2 separate regions of the Homo sapiens genome follow, and region 2 is linked to region 1. The links are contacts of gene promoters, found by promoter capture Hi-C in human tissues and cell types (Jung and others, 2019). All regions are on one chromosome and are shown on one strand. Each heading gives the region's core, a stretch centred on a gene start or on the middle of the fragment in contact. The rest is flanking DNA. Distances are from core to core; before and after follow the strand shown.

Evidence for each region. Contacts are between HindIII fragments. The study calls those that stand out against the background at their distance.
Region 2: a fragment that was not itself captured here is called in contact with the fragment with the promoter of PBX3 in region 1 in 1 of the 25 tissues and cell types used here (IMR-90 fibroblasts).

What each region holds. Positions count from the first base shown.
Region 1 is chr9:125,744,087-125,748,906 of GRCh38, reverse strand. PBX3 (PBX homeobox 3) reads right to left here and starts at 1,534. Exons shown (of 9, transcript NM_006195.6): 1 at 1,254-1,534; 2 at 284-357. The coding sequence starts at 1,453. It overlaps PBX3-DT (PBX3 divergent transcript), which reads left to right and starts at 2,978. Exons shown (of 2, transcript NR_122032.1): 1 at 2,978-3,491. RefSeq lists silencers at 560-899, 1,170-1,699, 1,710-1,759, 2,010-2,439. The HindIII fragment of the contact is 5,465 bases long and covers 1-4,803 here.
Region 2 is chr9:126,811,873-126,816,692 of GRCh38, reverse strand. All of the region lies in intron 2 of ZBTB43 (zinc finger and BTB domain containing 43), which reads right to left. Among named protein-coding and RNA genes, the nearest start is that of ZBTB43, 9.2 kb to the right of the region's middle. The HindIII fragment of the contact is 6,307 bases long and covers 1-4,820 here.

The DNA of each region.
Region 1 (4,820 bases), core at 285-2,784:
GGCTGGCGCTCCGGGCCCCCTCCCCGCCTGCAGCCAGGGGCGGCCGCCGAGGGACGGCGATCCAGCCCGGTCCGCACCTACACTTCATTTTACACCAGGAGCAGAACTGAGAAATTGACTCCAGATTTATTGCAGTTTTTTCTCAAGATCAGGACGTGGGAAGGAGAGAATGATCAAAGATGGCGGTGCCCAAAAGCAGCAGCTCTCAACTGGAGAGTCGAAGGAGTAGCTCCGACCCCCACCTCGGGGGTCTCCAGGCCCACTGCGGGGCGCAGCGTCTTACCTGTTTTCTCTTTGATCTCACACAGGACGCTGAAGAGCGCTGGTTTCATTCTGTGACAGTTCAGGGCATGTTTCCTAAAAAACAAATAACGAAACACAAAGGTATTAGCATCACCTATGGAATAATATGGCGCCTTCCTTTAAGTTAGACCCAAGATTTAATTCCAGCCCCCCATTCTGGAAGGCCCTTTTGAACCGTGGGAAGTCAACAAAAACTCCAGTTGACTAGTTCCCGACAGCCAGCAAGCCCCGGCGGCGAAAGCTGCAGCCGGAACAAGGCGGACCCATCTGCCCGGCAGGCAGCAGCCTCGGCCACTGCAGACGCGACGCGAACCCGCGCGGGGAGCCTCGCCCCGGGGGCAGGCGAAGGCGACCCGGGGGAGGGGACGGGTGCGGAGGGGCTCCCGCGTCCGCTCCTGTGCAGAGGAGGCCGGCCGACTGCGGCCAGCGGGAGGGTGACAGCTCGGCAAAGTTTGCAAGGCGGCCCTCCCTCTCCGAGAACTTGGCCGTCCGCACCCGGACCCGCCAGGGAACCGCCCATCGCCCCGCGCCGGGCCCGGGTGGCCGCCCGCATCGCGAGGTCGTCCCGCGGCCGCGGGAGCCGGCGCCGGGACTCCCCGCCGGAGGAGAAAGTTACACTTCCCGGCGGCGCGGCCCGCACGGGGTCGGGGCGGGAGGTTTAAATCCCTGGGAGGGGGCCGGGCTGCGAGGGGCAGGACGGGGGAAAGGACGCCACGGAATCCGCGCCGCACCGAGTCCGTCCCGAGCCCCCCAGAGCAACTTTGCCGACTCCCGCCCGCTTCGGGGGGCGCGGGCAAGTCCCCCCGAGGCCGGGGCGGGCGGCCGGCTTTCGGAGAAAGTTCCCCGCCGGGGGCTGCGGCCCTAGCCCCGGGCGCCACCCCGGGCCTCGACTCGGCCGCGGGCCCGGCTCCCGCACACACACAAAAGATGCTTAATGAGACGACACCAACTTTGCTTGCGCCTCGTCCAAGCTCTGGTCGGTGATGGTCATGATCTGGTGGAGGATGTCGCCGATGTCCTGCTTCCTGCCGTCGCCGTCCGCCCCTTCGTGGCCGTGCGGGGGAGGCGGCAGGGCCATGCCCCCCTGCACCGAGTGGCCAGCCAGGTTCACCCCGGCCAGAGTCTGCAGCATCCTGGATTGATCGTCCATCCCGCCGCGCGCGGGCGGGAGCGGGCGGCGGCTGAGGCGAAGGCTGAGGCGGCGGCGGCGGCGGCGGCGACGAGGGAGGAGAAGAAAGAGGGGGAGGGGGAGGGGGAGGCGGCCGCGCGCTCCCCGCCCGCGCGGGGAGGGGGCGGCCCGGCCGGCAGGGCCCGCGGCTGAGGCGATGAGGACGGGCGCCCGGCTCCGGCTTCCGCCGCCGCCGAGGCTGAGGAGAAGCGGCGGGCGGAAGCGCCGGGCTCCGCGGCGGTGGCGGAGGCGGAGGCGGCGGCGCCCGCTGCCCTCACGCGGCCGCCGCGCCGCCTCCTCGCCGCCGCGCGCCCCGCCGGGCGGCCCCGCGCAACTTGCTCCTCAGCGCCCGCCGAGTTGCCGGGACGCCCGCCGCCCCCCGCGCCAGCCTGCGCACTGCCCTCCTCGGCCGCCGCCGCCGCCTCGGCCAGGCGGGATCCGAGCCCCGGCGGCCCCGGGGGAGGCAGCGGCGGCGGCGGCGGGCGGCGGCGGAGGAGGAGGCCTGCGGGCGGGCCGCGGGGAGCGAGGGGGGGCGGAGGAGGAAAGTTTGGGAGCGGGCGGGCAGAGGCGGCGGGGGCGCTGAGCCCGGAGGAGGGCCCCGGCGGGCCGCGCGCCGGGCGGACAGCCGATGGATAGGGCGGGAGAAGTCGCCGCCGCCGCCGCCGGAGCCGCGCACCCAGCCAGCAGCCGCCGCGGACCGGGCTGGAAGGCCGCTGGGCCGAGGGATTGACAGGCTGCCAGTGCCACTCACTCACTGCGGCCCCGCGCCGGGGGGAGGGACGGGGGCTGGCAAGGGCGGGGGAGCGCTCCTCAGACCCCGCCCCCGGGGCGGTGCGCGCGCTCATTGGGCTCTGCGCCTCCCGCCGCCGCCGCCGGCACCGCCCCCGGGGCCCGGCCCGTTCCCTCTGGCCTCTGATACTCCGCGCTCCGGAGTGTGCCGCCGGATCCTCGCTCCAACCTCGTCGCGTCCTAGCCCCCCGGGATAGACCGGGCCGGCCCACAAACGGTGTGCCCGCACCCCGACTCCTGCTCCATGCTTTTGGCAGTCATGGGAGCGGGGGGTTGTGTATGGGACAGTGGGCAACTCGCTGCAAAGCCAACCGTGTGCTCCCCCGCCGCGCCCGTGAGCTTCACGCCTCGGACAGCTCCTGGTGCACTTTCCCGCTCTTCCTGTCAGGAGGTGGTGCCCTCTGGGTACCAGGCCGCTCGTCCCGGGCCAATCGCAAAGCGCTTAGAGCCGAATGGGGCGGGACAGAGGCAAGAAAGGGTCGTCCCAATTGGAGCGTTCGAAAGGTTCTGGGCAGAGGCGGGGAAGCGGCGAGTGGGGGCCTCGCCCCGCCTGCGGTCGCCATGGTAACCGAGAGGGCGCAGCTCAGCGTTGGCGCCAGCACCGGGGTCTTGTGCTGTCCCTCAATGGGTGACCAGTTAAGGTGGGAACCTGTGGTCTCACATACTTGAAGTCTGAGCTGAGTGGACCTGACTGCCATAGACTTTCCATTGAAAGGGGAAATGTGTCAGAGAGAAGCGAGTCTGGGAGGAGGGAAAGTGCCTTCAGTCCAGGACTAATTTCAAGGTTTACAACACTTTACACACTCTGCAACTCCTGATAATCCAGGGACTACTCCTTTGGCAGCGTTTGCTATTCGATGCCTCCAGATGTACTGAAGCTGCAAAAACGAGCTCTTCATTACAAAGATACGTTTGTTTAGGAAGAGACTGGATTTCACTTGTCAACTTACCCCATCACCACGAGTCATTTAATGTTGGTAACGCCAGCCACGATTTTTCGTATCTATAACACCCCTTCTTCCATTGAATTCTACCTACAAATAACTGAAGGCTCACATTATTTTGGAATATGGACCTCCGCCTCTTGTGGAGACTTGAGATTGCTCTTAAGCTGATTTCCCAAACAGGGGCTGCAATGTGTGTTCCCGATTTTAGATTCATTGAGCTCACCCTAGATGAGTCCTTTGGTTCGGTGGTTCGGAAAAGTCTCTTTGTTCCTTCTCCAAACTCAGTAAGCTGTCTTACCTGAAACCAAAAATAGGGGTATGAGGATATGAAAAATGGCTCTTACTCTGCAGGGTTTAATGTAGGACAAGCAGTTCTTTAAATGCCAGATGGATTCTTGGAATGAAGCAGGCTACTCGGTTCCAGGTTCTTTCCTTCATATGTTGTGTGTACTTTTAAATACTCCCCACTGCAAAGCTAATAGCTAAGCTTACAGTTAGGCAAGCTAAAATCCTTACAAACTGCACAGCTGCTGAGGAGGGAGTTCCAAAAAATCCACTCTGCTTACTTACCTCCAAAGAAGAACCCCCTTCATGTTCATTAATATTCTCTGCTCTTCTATACCCCATTGATATGTCAAGTTTCCAATTCTTCTTTGAAGCCCCCATTATGGGTTACTTATAATCGTCATTGATTGGGTTTTTTCTTTATTCTTAATTTGTTTTTTAAAGCTGTCACCAAATTCTTAAGCATTTTTGCCAAAAGGCGCAGGAGCAAGCGGTCAACCTTTCATAATTCTCCAACGCTGAGGATGCAAAACCACAGAATTCTAACTGAAAGATGCCTTAAATTCTAAGATTCCTTCCAGCTGTAAAATTCAATAATCCTGTGACTCACTATTAGGACTCCTCTCTGCCCTCCTTCTAGACTCATAATCTTGACTAATCAGTCATGAGGATGAGGCTAATTAGCAATGGGGATTTATGGTTATTTCTAGCCCACTCCGAACAATGAGTTATGTAAGCAAAGCAACATATATAAAAATGTAAATAGGCCGGTGGCTCATGCCTGTAATCTCAGAACTTTGGGAGGCCGAGGCAGGTGGATCACAAGGTCAGGAGTTGAGACCAGCCTGGCCAACATGGTGAAACCCCATCTCTACTAAAAATACAAAAAATTAGCTGGGCTTGGTGGCAGGCGCCTGTAATCCCAGCTACTCAGGAGGCTGAGGCAGGAGAATCACTTGTACCCAGGAGGTGGAGGTTGCGGTGAACTGAGATTGTGCCACTCCCCTCCAGCCTGGGCGACAGAGTGAGACTTCTTTTCAAAAAAAAAAAAAAAAAGTAAATAAAGAAACACTTAAGCAAATAAAGGCAATTGGGAACTATGGGCTGTGTAAACACACTGGAACATAAAAACATAAATTAGAATTAAGAAAACAGTTAGGCAAATGCCAGCAATTAGGAATAAAACAACTTGTTAAATGTCTAACACCCACAGTTATTTTATGGTACACTCCTCTACACCCATGGTCATTCAGTGATGTGGAAACTTGATACCATAATTCTGCCTTAAGTGATTGAATTAGACTGACCTTCTGCTTGGGAGGCTTCTC
Region 2 (4,820 bases), core at 734-3,233, 1.1 Mb before region 1:
ATGTCAATGTGGTTCAGCCCTGCATCTAGCTTAAGAACTAAGAGCTGATTCTAACAATATTCGGGTATACAACAAGGGACCCAAAAGCAAATTTCAGACCTGAACAGAATGTTTCCCTCTCAAGAATTAAACAAAATAAAACCAACACAGGTCTGTGGATATATTCCAGAATATCAAAAAGAAAAAATAGCAAGAAATAGACAAAGAGTACATTTTAAACAATTTTTAAAATGTTTTTCACAAACTTCATGAAAACACAGTCTCTGAATAAAGTATAAGGAAGATGAGACAAAACAGTAGAATGATATGAAAAAAGGGCAGACTGAATTAATGATAGGGTATCAGGAAACTAATATAGAGCAGAAATTTACACAGGCAATAAGAAGCAGAATTACAACAGTAAAAAAATGGAATCGATAATGTGGAAGGCACTTTGGGGACCTTCTACTAAAATACAAGAAAGTGAAAACAGCGAGAGAGAAGATGATAAAGCAGGAGAACAGAGAAGAGAGATCGATGTACAGCCCGTTAATGTCCTTGAGAGAAAGAACCAGAGAACGTGAAATAATAAAAAATAAATTTAATTGAAGAAAACTGCCCTGAATGGAAAACCTTGAGTATTCAGAAAAGCCTTACCTCAGTAGTGGGGACAAATTAATTCCAGACAAAATGCAGTTCTGGTCCTGCCAAACAAAGCTTAAAAACAAGCCTCAGAAGGATCAAACTGTTTCTAACTTAATTATGTTCCAGAATGAAACTTGAGAACATTTACATAATACAAAAATATCCAGCACCGAACAAGGTAAAACTCATATCTGACATCAAATTTAAAAATCACCAGGCATGCCAAGAACTAGGAAAATATAACCCAGGATACTGAGGTGGGGGTGGGAATCAATCAACAGAAACAGATCCAGAAATGACAGAAGATTTATACAACTGGTAAACAATTCTATATTCTATATTTTCAAGAAAGTAGAGGAAAGATTAAGCATGTTAGGTACAGACAGGGAAACTATTGAAAAAAAAAAAAAGAGAGAGAGAGAGAGACCCAAATAAAACATCTAGAAATTTAAAAAACAAACATACATTGGGATGAGAATAACAACAGAATTGACACTGCAGAACATTAGTGAGCTTGAAAACATGGCAACAAAAACTTACCCAAAATAAAACATACAGAGGAAAAAAAAAGGCAAATAAAAAGGGAATAGAGTATCAGTGAGCTGTGAGACAACTTCCAGATACCTAATGTAGACATGATTGTTGTGGGGAAGGCAAAAAGTTTTATGTGATAAGCTATCAGACACATGAAAACTATATATATATATATATTTTTATATATTGAAAACTATATATATAGTTTTATATATTGAAAACTATATATATAGTTTTATATATTGAAAACTATATATATATAGTTTTATATATTGAAAACTATATATATATAGTTTTATATATTGAAAACTATATATATAGTTTTATATATTGAAAACTATATATATAAACAATACACACATACACACATACATTTTATACATATGTGAAAACAACAGCCAAAACTTTTTCAAATTTGATGAAAACTACGAACTCACAGACCTAAGCAGCTCAACAAACTCCAAGCACAAGAAACATGAAAAAAACTACAGCAAGGCACATCATAATCAAATCACTTAAAATCAGTGGAGAAAATCTTAAAAGCAGCCAGACAAAAAAAAGGCCCCTTGTGTACAGAGAACCTCAGAAGCAATGCAAGCCAGGAGACAGGAGACCATTTTAAAATACTGAAATGAAGGTGGGGGAGGGGGCGGAAAGGCCTGTCAACTTAGAATTCTATACCCATGAAAGTATCTTCAAAGTGAAGGCAAAATACTTTTTCTTTCTTTCTTTCTTTCTTTTTTAGACAGAGTCTTGCTCTGTTGCCCAGGCTGGAGTACAGTGGTGCAATCTCAGCTCACTACAAGCTCCGCCTCCTGGGTTCACACCATTCTCCTGCCTCAGCCTCCCAAGTAGCTGGGACTACGGGCATCCACCACCATGCCCGGCTAATTTTTTGTATTTTTAGTAGAGACAGTGTTTCACTGTGTTAGCCAGGATGGTCTCGATCTCCTGACCTCGTGATCTGCCCACCTCGGCCTCCCAAAGTGTTGGGATTACAGGCGTAAGCCACCGCGCCCGGCCCAAAATACTTTTTCAGACATAGAAAAGTTGAAAGAATTTATCACCAAAAAGGTCAAAAGTTTAAAAAAAAAAAAGTCACATGAAAACAAAAGTCAAGCAACACAATACTAATATCAAAGTAAATTTCAATGTAAATTTACTTTGTAAATTTCATCTGTAAAATTTTTACAGATGTAAAATTTACATTTTACAGATGTAAATTTCATCTGTAAAAATTTTACAGATGTAAATTTCATCTGTAAAAATCAGGATGAAAGTTTATTGTTAACTGATGAAACCTATAATTCACAATGAAGTTTACTCTGTGAACTTTTATGTGTCAGAGTACAATGTTAGAAAATAAGGCAACAGTAACAGAACTGTAATTGTAGCAGGAAATATAAGTATCCCTCTTTAATTCTTAATAAATCAAGTAGGCAAAGGACAAGAATCTATAGGTTTAGACAGCTATCAATAAAGCTAATTTAATGCAATACCTATATACTCTACAAATAATACTCCTTTTCTACTGTCTGTAGGACATTTACAAAAATGATAATATACGTGGCTACAGAGAACATCAATAAATTCTCCAAAGCGGAAATGCACAGGGCACATTTGATTACATGTGACTATACAATGGATTACACAATATGATAAAACTAGAAATGTAAAAAGTAGAGGGGGAGAAGAGGACAAGGCAATAGGGTAGGAGAAAATTCATAAATTTTATACAAAACTCTGGTATCAAAATTGGCCAACAACAAAAAAAACCCTACAAGCCAATCTCACTTATTAACATAGAAAGAAAAATTATAAATCACATGGCATTCTGGTTTGTATACTTTAATCTCTTGCGGGTTTGGTACATCATAAGTATGATATGTTGAAGACACTGAGTTATTGGTCCAATCACACTAACGGCAAGATCCTAGATTATGGTGAAATTACCATCAGAAAGCCATTTCAGATCTCCCTCGGCTCTCTTTCACTCAAGACTAACCCTGGTGACACACACATCATTACTTGTGCTTCCTTCTATGAGTGACAATGAGTGATGGGAGATAAATCTAGAAAAAGCCGAATGAGACGTCTACATTGGGGCAGCACTGAAAACTTCTAAGTGACGTGCTGTGAGGCATGGTTAAGGAAGGTTGATCTGCTGACGGACTAAAGCAGGAGAAAGTCTGAAGTAGAAGCTAATTATAGGATTTCAATAAGTGTAGTCTAGGTAGTAATAAAAGTAACAGTGGGGCCAGGCATGGTGGCTCACGTCTTTTATCCCAGCATTTTGGGAGGCTGAGGCACGTGGATCACTCGAAGTCAGGAGTTCCAGACCGGCCTGGCCAACATGGTGAAACCCTGTCTCTACTAAAAATACAAAGTTAGCCGGGCGTGGTGGCACACATCTGTTATCCCAGCTATTCGGGAGGCTGAGACAGCAGAACTGCTTGAACCTGGGAGGCGGAGGTTGCAGTGAGCCGAGATCATGCCAAAGCACTCCAGCCTGGGCAACAAGAGCAAAACTACATCTCAAAAAAAAGAAAAAAAAAAAAAGTAACAGTGGGTATGGAAAAGGGGTGGCATTGATGAGACTGACAGAACTGGTCAGCAGGAAGATACAGCAGTAGTACAAGGTACAAATGATACCATCAAGAAAGTGAACACACAACCCACAGAATAGGAGAAATTATTTGCAGATCATGTAACTAATGAGTGACTTGCATCCAGAATACCTCAAGAACTCTTATGACTCAATAATAAAAAGATAAATAACCCAACTGAAAAACAGATAAAGGATCTGAAGAGACATTTCTCCAAAGAAGATATACAAATAACCTATAAGCATATGAAAACCACTCAACATCATTAGTAATTAGAAAAATGCAAATCAAAACTACTAAACATCCCTTTTCACTCACTAAAATGGCTGTCAAAAGACAGACAGACAATAACAGGTGTCGGTGAGGATGTGTAGGTATTATAACCTCCATACATTGCTGGTGGGCATGTAAAATGGTACAGCTACTGTGGAAAGCAGTGTGACAGCACCTCAGGGAGTTAAACATAGAGTTACCACGTTAATTCAACAATTCTCCTAGGTACATACCCAAGAAAAATGAAAACATATGATGTCCACACTAAAACTCGTACATGAATGTTCATAACTGCATTATTCTTAAAAGCCAAAAAGTGAAAACCATCATAAGCTCCATCAACTTATGACTGGATAAACAAACAGGATATATCCTTAGAATAGGATGTTTGGCAATAAAAAAGAACGAAATACTGATAGATGTGACAACACGGCTGGCACTTGAAAACGTTATGCTAAATGAAAGAGGTCGGACACAAAAGGCCGTATCTTGTATGACTCCACTTATATGAAATGTCCAGAATAGACAAATCCATAGAGACAGAAAGTAGATTCGTGGCTACAGGTAGAAGAAATGGGGAGCAACTGCTAACTGGGTTTCTTTGAGGGGAGACAAAAGTTCTAAAATTAGATTGTGGTGATGGGTATACAAATCTGTGAATATACCAAAAAAAAAACCTCTTTATTACTTATGAATTATGTCTCTGTAAAGCTGTTTAAAAAAGAGTAATGTGGCCGGGTGCGGTGGCTCACGCCTGTAATCCCAGCACTTCGGGAGGCCGAG